2 separate regions of the Homo sapiens genome follow, and region 2 is linked to region 1. Evidence: promoter capture Hi-C in human tissues and cell types (Jung and others, 2019). All regions are on one chromosome and are shown on one strand. Each heading gives the region's core, a stretch centred on a gene start or on the middle of the fragment in contact. The rest is flanking DNA. Distances are from core to core; before and after follow the strand shown. Region 1 holds the start of SGPL1 (sphingosine-1-phosphate lyase 1). Region 2 overlaps SGPL1 (sphingosine-1-phosphate lyase 1).

Region 1 (5,984 bases), core at 2,613-5,112:
TAAATACAAAAATCAGCCGGGCATGGTGGCATGTGCCTGTCGTCCCAGCTACTCAGGAGGCTGAGGTGGAAGGATCATCTGAGCCTCAGAGATTGAGGATGCAGTAAGCTGAGATCATGCCACTGCACTCCAGCCTGGGCATCAGAGTGAGACCTTGTCTCAAAAAAAAAAAAAAAAAAAAAGCTGCATCCCATGACTTCTAAGACTATTTCTAATTCTGAGATGCTGCACTGCACTGAGGTTATTTTTTTATTCACTTAGGTCCTTTCTTCCCAGGTGGAGGGCCAAGAACATGTTTTACATATCATATAAAGTAGCTTGAGAAACACCTCATAGAATGATGGGTTAGTGTGCCACTGAAAACCCAGCCATGGTTATTGGTTCTTTACCAGTTAGTTCCAAATAGCATTATACATTACAGTCAAGGAATGAATGACAACTTTTCCAGTGAAAGCACTTCATGCAACATGTATGTTGTCTTCAGAAAGTGATGACTGCCTAGGGCCACTCGCATCTATGTGGATTAATTCCTTACAGCAACAAGCAAAGCAACACTCCTAAACATTCTAAATTAACAGGTGAGGAGGTGAAAGGTGGTGGCAACAGCTAGAGAAATACCTCAAAAGAAAACTGATTCCAAAGTTAATATTCCGAGTAAAAGCAGTCATTGTTCTGTTAAAGTAAATGCATAGGCCCTATAAGTAATAACCATATCTCTGTGCATGGGGAAATATCTTACATATAAGAACCTATAATTTACATAAACATATCCTTCTGTAAGAGGATAAACAGAAACTGTCAATTGCTACAAGTCACTCTGCATTAACCATCCAAGATGCTCACAGCGGTTATTTCTGGGTGATAAATTACTGCACGGGGTAGAGGCGAATGAAGGGGATGTAGGAGATAGGGGAGATTAACAAATCCCCTTTCCTTTTGCTTACTTATAGTTTCCAGTATTTCTAACATAATGGTCTTTGAATAAGAATTTTAAGTTATATAAGGGTATTAATTAAAACTGAAAAATCCATGAAATTTGGGGCAAGATACTATTTTAGATGAACTTTTCATTGGGATCTGCGGATAACCTAAGTATTCATCTATGTCTCTCACATACAACCTAAAATTATCCTAGATCCCTGCCTCAAATCACAATGGATCAAAACTTAGTTTCTCTCTTCTTTAGCCCCCCTGCAGACCTTACAGGTTATGCCACTACGATGTCAGCACCCAGTATAAGGAAATCTCACTACCAGTTTTTGCCAGTTTCCCAGTGACGCCAACCCACCCTCTGGGATAGTGAGATAAAGAGAGAGAAATGAATTGTTTTTAAAGCACTGATTTTGCACTCAGAGAAGTGACAAAAACAAACAAACAAACAAACTTGGCTGGACACGGCGGCTCACGCCTGTAAGTAATCCCAGCACTTTGGGAGACCAAGGCAGGTGGATCACCTGAGGTTAGGAGTTTGAGACCAGCCTGGCTAACACGGCGAAACCCCATCTCTATTAAAAAACAAAAATTACCCAGGCATGGTGGTGTGCACCTATAATCCCAGCTACCCGGGAGGCTGAGGCAGGAGAATCGCTTGAACCCGGGAGGCAAAGGTTGCAATGAGCTGAGATTGTGCCATTGCACTCCAGCCTGGGAGACAAGAGCTAAACTCCATCTCAAAAACAAACAAACAAAACAAAACAAAACGAAACAAAAAAAACTAAACCCGGACACTTTTTCTATACCACCATTTCAAAGCTATAAACTCTCCATAATTCTCACACTAAGAAGTCCATAAGGAATCATAAAAGTCCCAAAAATAAAATGTCATTTTGGTAAACATGCATTTAGCAACGCTATTCTTCCCTGCTCAGTAAAACAGCACAGAAAGATCTCAGGAGGAGAGGAAACAGCTCTAAAGCAGGCATACCTCTCTGTCCAACAAAAGAACTTAAATTCATACTGGTTCAATCCAACAAGCATTTGTTAAGCACATACTATATTCAGAGCACCATGCTAGGTGTTTATTCATCTCTAAACAAAGAAGACATGATTATCTGCCTGTCGAGGAACCATAACTCTAATCTGGAAGACAAACACTCAGATAAACTAGTATATGGCAGACCCTGATAAAACGTAATAATAGAGGTTTCAAAACTGCTCTGGTAGTACGGGAAGGGAGGGATTAAAACTGCAAGAATTATGAAAAAGAAAGCCAGGAGAGGTGACCTGTGCTCCTAGTCCTAGCTACTCCAGAGGCTGAAGCAAGAGGATCACTTGAAGTGGGAGTTCCAGGCTACAGTGAGCTATGATTATGCCTGTAAATAGCCACTGCACTCCGGTCTGAGGAACATAGCAAGACCTTGTCTCATTTAAAAAAAATAATAATAATTTTGAAAAAGATTCTTCAATAATTTAAGTTCTACATATACTGTATTGATGTATTTAATTCAGCTATTTATTCATCCTGATCATTCATCCAAAATAAAAGGTGGTTGGCCAGGCGCGGTGGCTCACGCCTGGAATCCCAGCACTTCGGGAGGCCAAGGCGGGTGGATCACCACAGGTCAGGAGTTCAAGGCCAGCCTGGCCAACATGGAGAACCCCGTCTCTACTAAAAATACAAAAATTAGCCGGGCGTGGTGGCGTGCGCCTGTAATCCCAGCTACTCAGGAGGCTGAGGCAGGAGAATCGCTTGAACCCAGGAGGCAGAGGTGGCGGTGAGCCGAGATCATGCCACTGCACCCCAGTCTGGGCAACAGAGTGAGACTCCGTCTCCAAAAAAACAAAACAAAACAAAACAAAATAAAAGGTGGCAAAACGCTCAGCTACCAAAAGCAAGCATCAGAGGTGAAATCTACACACTGGGATCCTTTGGACTAAAAAAACGGAGACAAATGCCTTGGAACCAGGAGGATGTCTGCAAAAGGCTCACCAACATCAGAAGGTCTGTGCTAGGCATCTTCCTCTTCCAGCCTCCTCTCCGCGCTCCCCTTTTTCAGACTCTGTAAAAGGGAACCAGGTTTGTTTACTTCTAGAGCTTTAAACTGTCTCGCCAGCCCGCCTAGATTCGCCAGAGCAGCCAAGTTATGGTTCTCTCCCTCCTTTGAAGGCTCAGATTTCATTCCCAGATATCACAGTCCACCCCTAGCACCCCAGACCAGCGAATCAAAATCCTGCTGCAACTAGGTTTCCCTCCCACAGCTGATGAAACTAATCCAGACCCAGACTCCCACAAAGCATTCCACCCAGGTGGAAACTAGGGGAAACGCCCCGTCTGCGCGCGATCGGGGTGGGGAGCCCAGCCCAGGCCACCTAACCCGGGCTGAAGGTGCCGAGGCTACCAGGGTCCTGCCTCCTCCGCACTCCCTTCAGAATCAGCACGGCCTCGCTCTCGTTGTCACCCCTCCCGTCGGAGGACCAGCAAATCCTGGCCGCCCATGCCTACCCCGCGGCAGGCGTGGGCTCCAGACCCGCCCCACCGCGGCCCCGCGCCCGCCCGCCGTCCACTTGCTTGGACCTCAGCGGCTGGTGCCCACGCCTTCAGCCCGCCCCCGCCCCCGCCCCGGCCGCAGCCGCCCCGCCGCCTCTGCCCGCCCTCGGCCCACCCGGCCCCTGTCCTCTCCTCACCCCGCGGCGCCTCCGTCCCGACCCTCACCGCCCCCCGGAGCCCGCGGCGGCCCCTCCACCTCCTCACGCCGGAACCAGCTTCCAGTCTCCTTCCCTCGAGCACCCGGCCGGCTCCACCTCCTGCGTCTCCCTCAGCACGCGACGGACTCGCAGGCCGCGAGACCCAGGCTCCCCTGTTGCCGCCGCCGCCGCCGAGATTGGAGGCCCGGCAGCCGCCGGCCTCGCCCCTCCCGGAAATGGCTCCGGGGGCACCGGCCCGGCTCCCGGACCCTGGCGTGCGCGGCCCCGCTGCTACCAGCCGCGCGCACGCCCAGACCCGGGCCCCACGGCCTGTGCGCGCCGCCTACCGGCCAGGCAGCGGGCTGCACCCAGACCCTCCAGTGAATGTCTCAACCAGGCCGTCCTGGGGCGGCTGTGGTATCCCGACGGTCACCAACTTCTCTTCCAAACTGCCTTGGACAAAAAACTTTCTTGTCACATTTGGTCACTTGGAGCCTCCTGAGAGAGTAGGTCTGCAGGGCATTGTACAAACTAATCCAAAACAGCCACAGAGTTGGGTCTCTTTCCTGGGCCAGGGACTTCATTTTTCCATCGAGGTCAGTGGTGCCTGAAGAAAAGCAACAAGGAAACTTATTTAATGGAAATATCATCCTCATCCTCCCCTCCACCACTGCCCCCCCCCACCCCAAAAATAAAATGGAGAGCAGAGGCTACTCTGCCATCACTACTTTCATGAGCAGTGCTGGGAATCACCTTATACACAAGTGCAAGGGCCCACTGGGATCACAAAGGTCGCCTTCATTTCCAGATGAAAAAACTAAGTCTCAGCTGGGTGTAGTGGCTTACATCGGTAATCCCGGCACTTGGGGATGCTGAGGCGGGAGGGTTGTCTGAGCCCAGGAGCTCTAGATCAGCCTGAGCAACATAGTGAGACCCCCAACTCCAAAAAGAAAAAGAAAAAACTAAGTCTCACATAGGTTTCCCATGACTTGTCCAGGTTGTCATAACATTGCTTTAGTGGTAGCAGAAGGCAGTGCAGTTACATGGAACCAACTGGTCAGTGACCTGCATTCAAGATTTTTTTTCAATAGATTTTAAAATGACACCTAGATAGACTCTTGAAATCTCTCAAACAAAAATGACACTAATGAGGGTACCCAATTCCATCCCCTTGGAAAATGTTGCCATGACACTAAAATTAGGGCATCATCACTACCGTCATTATCCACATGTAGTGCTTTCAGGATGAAATGTACTATCACAGCTGCCCTCCTCTGCATACCCCATCGGCACTTCCCACTTCCCCAGCCATAATGGTTAAGGCCCTGAAAGACTATGAACAGGTTATCTTTAGGCCTCCTCACCCCCATTCCGTCAGAACTCCCAGACATTTCTACCATCCAGAGCCCCTGACTCAGGCATGAACACCCCCATACCCTTAGCCCCCTCACTACTATTCCCCAGCAGACATGCATTCTCAGTGTTTGAGGGTCAGAAAATGTTCTGGGGCCTCCTGCCAATGCCTACTCATCAAGAGTTGCTTTAGGGTTTCAGGTATGCCTTCCCATTCTCCATCTCCTACCCTTCTGCTTTAATTCTTCATCAGATCCCCCAGGAACTGCACACCTCCTCTCCATCTCCTTGTTAGTTACCACCCCCACATCCTTTAATCTAGAATCTGTGCACCCAGATGACTAGAGGGCAGGGTCACGTCTGATTCCTCCCTACACCCTAACACACAGTATGCAGTCTGCTCATTCTTCCCAGATGCTCAAACCAATGCAATCATATCGACTGATCCTTGCTTTGCCAAGAACTATGCTAGGCACCTTTACATACAAGCCTTATTTATGGCCTGACTTGCCCAGATCAGGTGACTCTTATCATCCCTCAACCTGTAAACAAGGACACCAAGACCAAAGAAGGAAATGATCCTCCCAAAGACACACAGGCAGGATGGGGTGGAGTTTGTGTGGGAGTTTGGAGGGGAAGCCAAGGGTTCAGAATTTGTAGCGGGGACCTCGAATATCCTTTTTGGTTAATTAGAATCAAAAAATGGTAGGGCTAGAGGGGTCTCCAGCTATTCGCCAGCTCCACCCCAGAGAATACACAAATACACGTGAAGAAACTGAGGTCCAGAGAGAGATGCGACTCCTAGCAGTTCCTGGCAGAGCCCAGCCTAGAACATGGGTCTGGGTTTGCAACTCTCTGAGCCGATGAAGCCCTGTGTGTGTGTGTGTGTGTGTGTGTGTGTGTGTGTGTGTGTGTGTGAGAGAGAGAGAGAGAGAGAAAGAGAGAGAGAAAGACTTCAGACCACCCTGCTCTCCTACCCCACACTCCCTCTGACAGCAGAATGACGT
Region 2 (5,575 bases), core at 3,075-5,574, 59 kb before region 1:
ATGCCACACCAGCCCTGAATGGCGTGGCCAGCTAGTCACAGTTGTTGGGTCAGTAGTACAGTGCTCAAGAACAATTCAGACTAACATGCCAAGGAGCCTGAGGAAAAGTCTGGTAGTCATGGCTCTCCCAGCCAGCATTCCCAGTGGGGGAAACTAGAAGACACCAGCCTGGAGAGGCTGAATATTCAGGAGTCCCTGAGATGGGGAATGGAACAGAGGAAAGTGTCTTTTGACTCATCTTAAGTACTCCCCTCCCCAAATAGAAACCTCAAAGACTGATCCATTTCCCCTAGGGCCTGGGCCAGGAGTAGCTCACTGCTCACTGCTGAGGAGAAAGGCACAAGATATAATGTCATAAGAGCAGGACAGTGGCTCAGCCTACAGAGTTCCCTATAGGGGAAAGAAGGCAGGAAATAGGCGCAGGGTCTGGTCCTGTCCCTGCACCACCCTGAGCAGCTAGTCTTGGGAAGGGATTACAGGCCCTGGGCCATAGGCTGCTCGCCATTCTGCTTTCCTATCCTGTTTCTCTCCCTGTGCTGCTCCCTTTTAGCCAGGGCTGAGAAATGTTCAGCACCTGAGGCAAAACTGCCATAGTACCTCTGAAAGCTGAATCAAGGGGGAAGAGGCAGAAGAACACACTAATAGAGAAAATTTTCCTTGCTACGGGTGCTCTTTCACACCCACCTAGGGTAAGTCAAGGCAACTTGTGAAGGTGCTTTGAGCTGTTCCTTCAAGCAAACACATTTTCATTACATAATGGCTTAACGCAAGGGTGCAGGGAAGGACCACCACCAACTTTGGTGACATATTTGAATCTGGGTGTTCATCCTACTCTGATATTCAAAAAAGCATAGAAAAAGGTCTGATTTCTGCTCATCACCAGCCCAGGATAGGGTTCAGGTGTGCTCTGACCACTGCCAATTCAGGAAGGCGGCACCATGGCCAAAAGCTCCCAGATTATTTGGAAACCATGTTTTCTTCCTAGTCCATGGTAACAAGAAAAAGCCAATGGAAGCATCATTCCAAACAATAATCTCCAAAGATGGTGGCAACCAAGTGTCAAATGGGGACTGCAGGCACAGAAGAGACCACCCCAAACCCTGCCTGGGTGGACGAAGCAGGTATGCTAGAATAGTCCTGTCCTGCAGAATAGGGAACGGCAGCTTGGTCGATCTGTGCCCTGGAAAAAGAAAATGAGTTGCAATAGAAGTGACTCTAAGACAGACAATGAACCTACTCTTAAGAGAGACAGGGCCAGGCACGGTGGCTCACGCCTGTAATCCCAGCACTTTGGGAGGCTGAGGCGGGGGGGCGGGTATCACCTGAGGTCAGGAGTTCAAGACCAGCCTGGCCAACACGGTGAACCCGTCTCTACTGAAAAAGAAAATTGAAAAATTAGCCAGGCGTGGTGGTGGGTGCCGGTAATCCCAGCTACTCGGGAGGCTGAGGCAGAAGAATCGCTTGAACCCAGTGGGTGGAGGTTGCAGTGAGCTGAGATCATGCCACTGCACTCCAGACTGGGCAAAAGAGCAAAATTCCATCTCAAAAAAAAAAAAAAAAAAAAAAAAGAGAGAGAAGGCTGAAAAAGCCTCCTGCTTAGAGTATACCTCACACCCAGCTGAGGAAACATCTGTTATGTAAACGCCTCCTGCCTGAGATAACAAAGAAGCTCTAGCTATCTCATAAACTGTACCCCAGCTTCTCTAAAGAATCAGGACAGGTCAGAGCTACCACACAATGTTTAAGTAAAGTTGAAAGCTAGAGAGTTTAGAAAAGGAAATGGTTAAAACAATTCCTAGGGTAACATTTATAACAAGGGCAAAATCATTATGTAATGGAATTCTCTGGGGTCTTCAAATTAAAAACCACAAAAGGAAGATAAGAGGAAGAACAAGAATCCTGAGGCTCAAGCTGTCTCATGGTCTATCTTGAGTTGTGCTCTATGGAGCAAGACCAGATGTCAAAGTTGTGCACGGCCTGTTCCATATCCCAAGAACCTTCTGAAGGCTGGAATCCCCTTGAGACTAGAAAGGGTCCAAGTTCAGTGGGGTTTTGGAGAACCATTCATCTGGCTGCCCTGGGTGACAGTGTCGGTGCTGTACAAGCTGTCCAAGAAGACTGAGGACAATTCTGCAACCATATTCCTGTCAACAGTTGTCTGGGCCATGCCATAGATGGCACCCTACAAATCCAAAGAAAGAGACATTATTAGTGAGGCCAGGTCCAAAAGCAAGAATAAAACTGCAGCAATGAGCCCCTTCTCCCCGAGTCCTAGCTTCGCATGTGCACTGCCCTACCCCATTTCCACCTAAGGCATCCCATCATTCTATCAGAAAAACAGCTGGCATAGTCAATTTTTCACAGGGACTTTCCAGTCTGCCTTTCTGCATAAAGGGACTAGCCTAAGAAAATTCCAGAAAAAACATGTTTACTATCTTTCCTGTGACAAAATTTTCTTTTCAAATGGACACTACCACCAGCTGCTTTTATACAGAAGTCTCTAACTTACAAGGTACTTTATAGTGTATCTCATTTGAGACTTCAGCAACCCTAAGGGGTGGGTGATGCAGAGATCATCAGCTCCAGTCAACAAATAAAAGATGTCTGTGGCAAAGGGGCAGAGGCAGGAACAGACTCCGGGTCATATGATTCCTTCAAACTCTCCACCAACACCTAAATTTCCAAGAGAAGAAAAAAAACTCCAAGTGTCCCTACCATTCCTGTGGTCTTCGCTTTAGGATTCTTCATGATTTGAGTGACAGATTCTCGAATGTCCTTTAGGAATTGTATAGCTACTCGTTTCCGGGCGTGTAGTAATGTGATGCAGAAATGAATACTAGGAAAGAAGAGACAGAGAGAGATGAACCTTGAAGAAAGAAAAAATGTTCTAAAATGATGCAGCCCCAAATACGGGAATTTCCTGGTTGCCCTTTCACAATATTTCTGACAAGTGTAGTCATCCAAGTTGTTCCTAGTCCTGGGAATCTCGGCTCTCTCATGCTTGGGGTGTCAGGCATGGGCTGGCCTCAGAGCTTCTCGGCATGACTGAGAACCATGCTAAGAGGATGAACAGTGTTGGCTGCTTTGTCCCACCCATCCCCTCACAAATTCCACCACCATTCCTTCAACCACGTCACCATCAATGAGACACTTTTATCTTAGATAATCAGCCCCCATGTGCTCTCATGGGGACAGGGCCACATGGCTGGGGTCTTAAAGGACTTCAGGGCACAGAAGAAATTCTACCTCGCCCTGGAGGAATTTAGTGGGGTTTACTGGAATTGTGAAGAGGGAAAAAGATAGTCCAGATGGGACTGGCAATGCACCAACGTGTGGAAGGCTAAGCTGTACACAGAGGACATGAACAGACCTGTACTCAGTTGGAGTGGTGCATTTACTCAAAGGCATCATGGAAGATTAGGTTAGAAAAGTCTAATAAAGAAGGCAGTAGCAGGCCTGAATGATTAGAGACCCCCAGGAAGATCTTGAACTAAATATTAGCCAGGTAACAAGTATTTTATAAGAGCAATTTGATGGCTGTGTACAAGATGGATTGGAGAGTAGAAAGGCTAGAGACTGAGAGAAAAACCTCATGACCAACCACTGGTCTAGGAGGCTGTCACCTAATTCTGCCAGAGTTTAAAGCTAATGGTCTTGTTCTTTGTATCTAATAATTCCAGGTGGCAAGAGAGAAATCCTTTATATACTACAGTTGCTACTAACGTGCTAGCCTCTAGCAGTCAAACTCTATACTTCAGGTTACTGTACCACCCAAGTTCTTCCAAAATCATGGAGCAAAATAAGGGAAAGAGGCTTCTTCAAGCTTACCTGGGTGGGAACTGCAACTGGTTCAAGTTCCACCCCTTAGCAGTCATCAGGTTTGATAGTCGGTAGATGTCAAAATCACGGGATCCCAGAGCAATGACTGACAATTGGGGATTCCCAAAAACAAAGATGCCTTTGATATTTTCCAGTCTTAAAACAAAAAAATAAATGAAGGAAGAAAAAGTAAATTCAGTCACATACAATCCCCTGGTCACTATCTCTTTAATCATTCAAAGTCTTCCTTATAATGAATGCAATCTAACCCTTTGGGCTTTAGTCTTCTCATCTTCAAAAAAGAAGAGGGCTACACTGGATCAGTGGTTCTTACTGAGATCAGAATCATAGATGGAACAATAAAAATGGAATTCCAAGGCCCAAACCCCATCTAGATCTAATGACTCAATCACTGACTTCGAACCTGTCTACCCAACTCCCAATTATATTCCCCTAGATGCTTCTGAGGCATGAAAGATGTACTAAAAAAATTTCTGGAAAAGTAATCTGCCCATCTCCACAGTTCTAAAAAGTCATATGTAATCCCTAAAGCAAGAAATGGTATAGCAGGTCTTAATAAATGGCCCTATCAGAGCTATAGGAGGACCTTTTATATATATCTAATTTTTATTTATTTGTTTGCTTATTTATTTGAGACAGGGTCTTGCTCTGTCACCCAGGCTAGAGTGCAGTGGTGTGATCATAGCTCACTGTAACCTCAAATTCCTGGGCTGTTCAAGCAGTCCTCTTGCCTTAAGCCTCCTGTGTAGCTGGGACCAAAGGTGCACACCACCACATGTGGCTAATTTTTATTTTTATTTATTTTTTATTTTTGAGATGGAGTTTCGTTCTTGTTGCCCAGGCTTGAGTGCAATGGTGCCATCTCAACTCACCGCAACCTCTGCCTCCCGGGTTCAAGCAATTCTCCTGCCTCAGCCTCCTGAGTAGCTGGGATTACAGGCATGCGCCACCACGCCCGGCTAATTTTGTATTTTTAGTAGAGACGGGGTTCTCCCTGTTGGTCAGGCTGGTCTTGAACTCTGGACCTCAGGTGATCCACCCGCCTCAGCCTCCCAAAGTGCTGGGATTACAGGGATGAGTCACCGCGCCCGGCCTCATGGCTAATTTTTAAATTTGTTGTAGAGATAATGTCTCACTATGTTGCTCCGGTTGGTCTTTAATTCCTGAGCTGAAGCGATCCTTTTGCCTTGGCCTCCCAAAGTGCTGGGATTACAGGCCGGAGCCACCGTGCCTGGCCAAGGATCTTTCTCAAATGAGAAATGCCTGCAGGCAGCTTTCCTTCCCCCTCAATATACTTAAAGAGCCTCCCCAATCCAAGTGACACATAGAGAGATGGGCAGATAAGATGTTAACAGATACATTAGACAAAGCATGCAGCCTGTTCTGGCCTTGGCTTAACCCAAGATTTCATTGCCCTCCTTTCCTCATTCCTTCTGGCCCATTTCCAATTATTTTCTTATTCCAATGATTCTTCAAGTATGATTCCTGGAGCAGTAGCATCAGTATCTCCAGAAATGGAAATTTTTAGAGCCCATCCCAGTTCCACTGAATCAGAAACTCTAGGGGTGGGCCCAGCTACCTGTGTTTTAACAAGTCCTTCAGGTGATTAGAATGCATGCTCAAGTTTGGGAATCACTGTCCTAACCATTAAATTGTACATTAGCCTTAGGGTAAGAGCTGCCAGTTATTAAGACATCCATAGAGATGAGATAAACTACAAATGAGGCCCCCGTCT

Evidence for each region. The method cuts DNA at HindIII sites, captures the fragments that hold promoters and counts their contacts. A contact is called where the count stands out against the background at its distance.
Region 2: a fragment that was not itself captured here is called in contact with the fragment with the promoter of SGPL1 in region 1 in 1 of the 25 tissues and cell types used here (bladder).

What each region holds. Positions count from the first base shown.
Region 1 is chr10:70,813,826-70,819,809 of GRCh38, reverse strand. It overlaps SGPL1 (sphingosine-1-phosphate lyase 1), which reads right to left and starts at 3,862. Exons shown (of 15, transcript NM_003901.4): 1 at 3,684-3,862; 2 at 2,930-2,999. The coding sequence starts at 2,956. RefSeq lists silencers at 3,447-3,556, 3,637-3,726, 3,747-4,066. The HindIII fragment of the contact is 13,423 bases long and covers 1-5,984 here.
Region 2 is chr10:70,873,802-70,879,376 of GRCh38, reverse strand. SGPL1 (sphingosine-1-phosphate lyase 1) reads right to left here. Exons shown (of 15, transcript NM_003901.4): 13 at 3,829-3,975; 14 at 2,716-2,836; 15 at 1-2,182. The coding sequence ends at 2,042. Among named protein-coding and RNA genes, the nearest start is that of PCBD1, 12 kb to the left of the region's middle. The HindIII fragment of the contact is 9,714 bases long and covers 1-5,575 here.